Linked DNA regions of Homo sapiens: region 2 is linked to region 1. The links are contacts of gene promoters, found by promoter capture Hi-C in human tissues and cell types (Jung and others, 2019). All regions are on one chromosome and are shown on one strand. The core of a region is centred on a gene start or on the middle of the fragment in contact, and the rest is flanking DNA. Distances in the headings are between cores, read along the strand shown.

Region 1 (2,927 bases), core at 53-2,552:
TTGGGTTTTTGCGTGGGCATCCTTTTTGTTGATATTGATGCTGTTGCTTTCTGTTTGTTAGTTTTCCTTCTAACAGTCAGGCCCCTCTTCTGCAGGTCTGCTGGAGTTTGCTGAAGGTCCACTCCAGACCCTGTTTGCCTGGGTATTGCTGCCTGCTCCTTCCTCTGGAAGCTTTGTCCCAGGGGGCACCTGCCAGATGCCAGCCGGAGCTCTCCGCTATGAGGTGTCTGTTGACCCCTGCTGGGAGGAGTCAGGAGGCATGTGGGTCAGAGACCCACCTGAGGAGGCAGTCTGTCCCTTAGCAGAGCTTGAGCGCTGTGCTGGGAGAACAGTCGATCTCTTCAGAGCCCGCAGGCAGGAACGTTTGAGTCTGCTGCTGAAGCTGTGCCCACAGCTGCCCCACCCCACAGGTGCTCTGTCCCAGGGAGATGGGAGTTTTATCTGTAAGCCCCTGAATGGGGCTGCTGCCTTTCTTTCAGAGATGACCTCCCGAGACAGGAGGAATATAGAGCGGCAGTCTGGCCACAGTGGCTTTGCTGTGCTGAGGTGGTTCCGCACCCAGTTCGAAATTCCCGGCAACTTTGTTTACACTGTGAGGGGAAAACTGCCTACTCAAGCTTTGGCAGTGGTGGGCGCCCCTCCCCGCACCAAGCTCGAGTGTCCCAGGTCGACTTCAGACTGCTGTGCTGCCAGCGAGAATTTCAAGCCAGTGAATTTTAGCTTGTTGGGTGCCTTGGGGGTGGGATCTGCTGAACAAGACCACTCGGCTCCCTGGCTTCAGCCCCTTTCCAGGGTAGTGAACAGTTTTGTGCCGCTGGCATTCCAGGCACCACTAGGATATGAAAACAACAACAACAACAACAAAGCAAAACAAAAACACAAAACTCCTACAGCTAGCTTGGTGTTTGCCCAAACAGCCACCCAGTTTTGTGCTTGAAGCCCAGGGCCGTGGTGGTGTAGGCACCCGAGGGAATCTCCTGGTCTGTGAGTTGTGAAGACCATAGAAAAGCATAGTAGCTGGACCAGATAGCACCATCCCCAGAAATACCATTTGATTCAGCAATCCCTTTACTGGATATATACCCAAAGGAATAGAAATCATTCTATCATAAAGATACATGCATGCATATGTTCACTGCAGCACTACTCACAATAGCAAAGACATGGAACCAACCCAAATGCCCATCAAGAGTAGACTGGATAAAGAAAATATGATACATGTACACAATGGAATACTATGCAGCCATAAAAAGGAACTGGATCATGTCCTTTGTAGGGACATGGATGGAGCTAGAAGCTGTTATTCTCAGCAAACTAACACAGGAACAGAAAACCAAAATGACATGTTTTCATTTATAAGTGGGAGCTGAATGATGGGAACACATGGACAAACGTTGGGGTGGGAGAACAACACATACTGGGGCCTGTTGCAGGCAATGAGAGGGAGGGCATCAGGAAGAACAGTTAATGGGTTCTGGGCTTAATACTTGGGTGATGGGTTGATCTGTGTAGCAAACCACCATGGCACATTTACCTATGTAACAAACCTGCACATCCTGCACACGTATCCCAGAACTTAAAATAAAAGTTGATAAAATAAAAAATAAATAATTTAAAAAATTTTTTAAAATTTCTGGAGACAGATGATGGTTGTCTAACAACATGAGTGTACTTACTTCCACTGAACTGTATATGTAAAAATGATTATAATTGTGGTTGGGCACGGTGGCTCACACCTGTAATCCCAACACTTTGAGAGGCTGAGGCAGGTGGATCACGAGGTAAGGTATTTGAGACCAATCTGGCCAACATAGTGAAACCCCATCTCTACTAAAACTACAAAAAATTAACCAGGCATGGTGGCACATGCCTGTAGTCCCAGCTACTCGGGAGGCTGAGGCAGGAGGATCGCTCGAACCTGGAAGGCGGAGGTTGCAGTGAGCTGAGAACGTGCCACTGCACTCCAGCCTGGGTGACAGAGCAAAATTCCATCTCAAAAATAAATAAATAAATAAAGATTATAATTGTAAATTTTATGTGTATTTTACCACAATAAAAAAACAGTAAGCCAGGAATAAAAAGTTTTGATGTGAAAACAAATTATCTCTCAAAGTTTGGGTGCAAATGAAATGTGGCCTAAGTTTTTTGGGCCATGACTTAATCTTCTATTACCATTTATTTAGGTGACCAGAAGAATGAGGACAAACAGAATGCCAATTCCATTATTTCAACAAACAAGTATTTCTAGATGAGCCTCTCACACCAAAGTCCCAGGACAGAGGCAGGAACACAATGGGTGCTCAAAAATATTTAAAGAACTTCACCAGTGCCTGACAAGAGACTGAGAATATAAAATGTTCACATGATTCACGAGGGCTCTTAAAACGAGTTGTTGCTCTTAAGATGTGGCTATTGGTTAGGGGAATGAATTTGGAAAGAACTTTGTTAGTAGAAAATGGTCTGCAAATGCGTGGAATTGGTGTTTCCATTGTCAGAGAACAACTTCGAGTGCACCCCTTCCCGGTTCTAAGTCCTTAGTATAATTCTGTAAATGTGACATCAGTAGAGGTGAAATCAGAAACCCTGAGCCTAGAGCCAATTCTGTCCATCCTTAGCTACATGACACGATGCAGGCCACTTTACTCATCTTGGTTCTGTCCAAGTTTGAGGCTTCTATGTGACTTAGATGAGATAATATATGTGAGATGCAAAACAATCACTGAAACAAAACAAAACACAACACAGGAGGCACTATAGTAAACGCTTTATTAGGAAATAAATAAAGCAATGCTCCTTTCTGCTAAGAAGATAATACAGAGTTGTCATGGAAAGTCACAAAAGTGAGTATTAATTTGAAACAAAATGATATTTATCATTGTAAAGATCTAATAAGGGCCGGGTGTGGTGGCTCATGGCTGTAATCCCAA
Region 2 (3,017 bases), core at 430-2,929, 60 kb before region 1:
TTTTATTGTTGTGGTGTGAACATTTAAGATCCACTTTCTCAGCAAATTTCAGGTATACAATAAAGTATTTTAAACTATGTCCACATTAGAGTGCACCAGATCTGCAGAACATATTCGTCTTATATAACTGATGTTGGTCATGAGAATGTGCTAGTTCTCCTTTACCCCACCACCCAACGACTATCCCAGTCAGCGGCTTTTCTCTCTTTCTGGAATCTTCAGAGCATTCCAGATATACAGTCTCAAAAGATGGCATCTGTATTTTTTAAGGAATAACTTAAGTTCATTTTGCCTTGCCAATATGTATTCAGGAGAAGAAGGAAGCCATATAAGAATGGAAATGTTATCTGCAAATGTTACCTGCAAATACAGGAGATTACTCCTCCATTGTTGAGTCAACTTAAGTGCATGTCTTGCGAATGTAGAGTCCCAATGTAATTTTTACTTTAATGAGAGTTAAATATAAGTGCTCTTGGACAGAAAGAGAAGACCCAACCTTAAATCTGAGTCTGCATTTTTAGCTAAATAACATCACACATTAAAATTTTCCTCAGCTGGAAAGTAGAGGTAATAAAACATGACCATCTGTTTTTATAATCAAATTAGGTAACATGTATGGTATGGAATATGTGTGTAAATCCCATATCAGGAATGCTGTAAAATAAAAAAAAACACCATGTGAGATGAAGGACAGCTTTGAGTTTATTAAGAAACATATAGGTAAGAGTCCCTGTTTCTAGGGAGATAACCCAAAATGATCATGAAAGGAATAAGGATAAAAGAACCACGAGGAGGACACTGAAAATGAAAACATGATTGTGAAGATTATTGATCAGTTGCAAAACCTAAGTTTCTTAGAGAAAGGGAATGAAGCTCTTGACTTTAGAGTCAAGCTGAGACCATGACTCCAAATTGAAAATACATGAAGGTGGCACATGATCCACAAGGTGTAAGGAAAAAAGAATCAGGATGAAGTACTCTACCCTCACTCAAGCTGATTCACAAAATGTTAAACATGCAGAGAAGTCATAAAAATTAGGGTGAGCAAAGTTCACCCTAAGTTCACTTTGTTGGTTTTCATCACAGTTTGAAAGTAAATTTGTCCCCCAGAAGGTAAATCTTTTGCCAGAGGGTTACTGTATGGGGATGATGGTCCTCTGCGGAACTGATCAGCAGCAAGCAGGCTGACAGCAGCTGGTCACACAGGTGGGCTGGAAGCAAGTGGTCCTGCAGCAGGTAGTCTCACAGCAGGCTGGGCGGCAGCACGGCTGGCAGCAGCTGGAGCCACAGCTCTGGTTTAGGCAACCAGGCAGGTAGACACTCGTGGGGTGGTAGCAGGTTCTCCTGCAGTAGATGGGTGCACAGGAGCTGGGCTGGCAGCAGCTGGACCCACAGCTGGTTTGGCCACAGCAGCTGGACCCACAGCAGATGGGCTGGCAGCAGGGTGTGCTGCAGCAGGAAGGCTGGCAGCAGCTGGTCACACAGGTGGGCTGGCAGCAGGTGGTCCTGCAGCAGGTGTTTTGACAGCAAGTTGGGTGGCAGCAAGGCTGGCAGCAGCTGGACACACAGCAGGAGGGCTGGCAGCAGGGTGTGCTGCTGCAGGTGGTCACAGTGGTGGGCTTCCAGCAGGTGGTCCTGCAGCAGGTAGGCTGACAGCAAGGGGAGCAACAGTGGGTCATGGTGTCAGGGGTGGAGGGTGGACTTCTGTTCAGAGGTGAATTTCCCAGGATCTGATGACCCCTTGCCCTCTGGACCTTTTATACAACTGGCCTCCAAAGTTTCCACCAATCAGCAGGACTTTTCCTTGTTGCTGTTTATGTTGTTTTCCACAGTCATTTTGGTATTGTCAAAGGGGAAGTTGTTTTCTAAAGGTTATAAATCTTTTGAAAGTAAGGGTTTAATCTGTTGCTTAATTGTGGATTACTCATAGAAACTATTTCAGATAAAAGGAAGCCCGTCTCATCATCAGCATTGTTCCTGCTCTGACCATCTTCTGGTGATGTGATAGTTCCTGGTGACCAGGGAGGCTCAGGAAGTTCTCTCTACCCAGCCTCATTCTTTGGTTGTATGTAGGTTGGCAAGTGTCTGTGGGGAGAATCATGATTCTGATATGGTCACAAAGACAAAATGAATCCATGCCTATGTTCAAGACTGTTCACCCACCAAAATCTGTTTCAAGACTAACAGGCATCTCTCTCTGTACAACCCACACCACCTGTGTCTTTCACCTCCATCAAAGTCACTTGGGAAAAGGGTGATTGGTACAGTGTGTTCTATGTGTCAGAGCAGAACCAGAGCAGGTGGGTACGAGGAGAAGTCCAGTGGGATTTAGATAGCATCAGGCAATCTTTGCCCTGGGTTGACCATTCATTCTGATTTGTCTGGGAGAGAGGGGCTTACCATAATGAAAATGTGGGACTTTGTGTAACATAAGTGCTTTAGACTCAGGCAAGCCAGCATGAGCTGTGGCTCTAGCCCTAACTCTGGTAGTAGCATAGTCAGTGCCATTTCTTTTCTCTATCTTTCTCCATTTCTTTTTAATGAAGAAATTAGATGAGTTGAGATGATAGCTGATTCGTCTTGGAGTTCTAACATATTAAAACATTTTTTAGGTATACCATTCATTTCAGAAGAATGCAAATTATTAATTTCCAACTTGTTATAACTTTGTAAATAAAGCTATGTCCCCATTACCAGGTTAGGAAATAGAAATTAATCCCATTCCCTTTAAATTATATTCCTTTACTCATCCCAAAAAACCACTAATCACTCTATCAAGTTGCAACCCTGTAGGTCAATTTGGCTATTCCTTTTTTACTTCGTGTGAATAAAAATTATAATATTTGCTTCTCTATTTCTTTTGCATAATCAGAGGTAATAATTATTGCCTAGTCATTTTGCACTCTTCATGTCAGCAGATCAGAAGGCAGAGAAAAGAGTTCCTTTTTGGTGAGGGGTAATTATCCTGTTTTCATGGCATGTAGGAGAATGTATCTGTAGCTCAGGAGATTTACTGA

The links. Contacts are between HindIII fragments. The study calls those that stand out against the background at their distance.
Region 2: a contact is called between the fragment with the promoter of KRTAP9-7 here and a fragment that was not itself captured in region 1, in 2 of the 25 tissues and cell types used here (IMR-90 fibroblasts and pancreas).

The regions. Positions count from the first base shown.
Region 1 is chr17:41,214,196-41,217,122 of GRCh38, reverse strand. No RefSeq gene overlaps it. Among named protein-coding and RNA genes, the nearest start is that of KRTAP9-2, 11 kb to the left of the region's middle. The HindIII fragment of the contact is 7,634 bases long and covers 1-2,927 here.
Region 2 is chr17:41,274,360-41,277,376 of GRCh38, reverse strand. KRTAP9-7 (keratin associated protein 9-7) reads right to left here and starts at 1,679. Exons shown (of 1, transcript NM_001277332.1): 1 at 1,170-1,679. The coding sequence starts at 1,679. The coding sequence ends at 1,170. The HindIII fragment of the contact is 10,836 bases long and covers 1-3,017 here.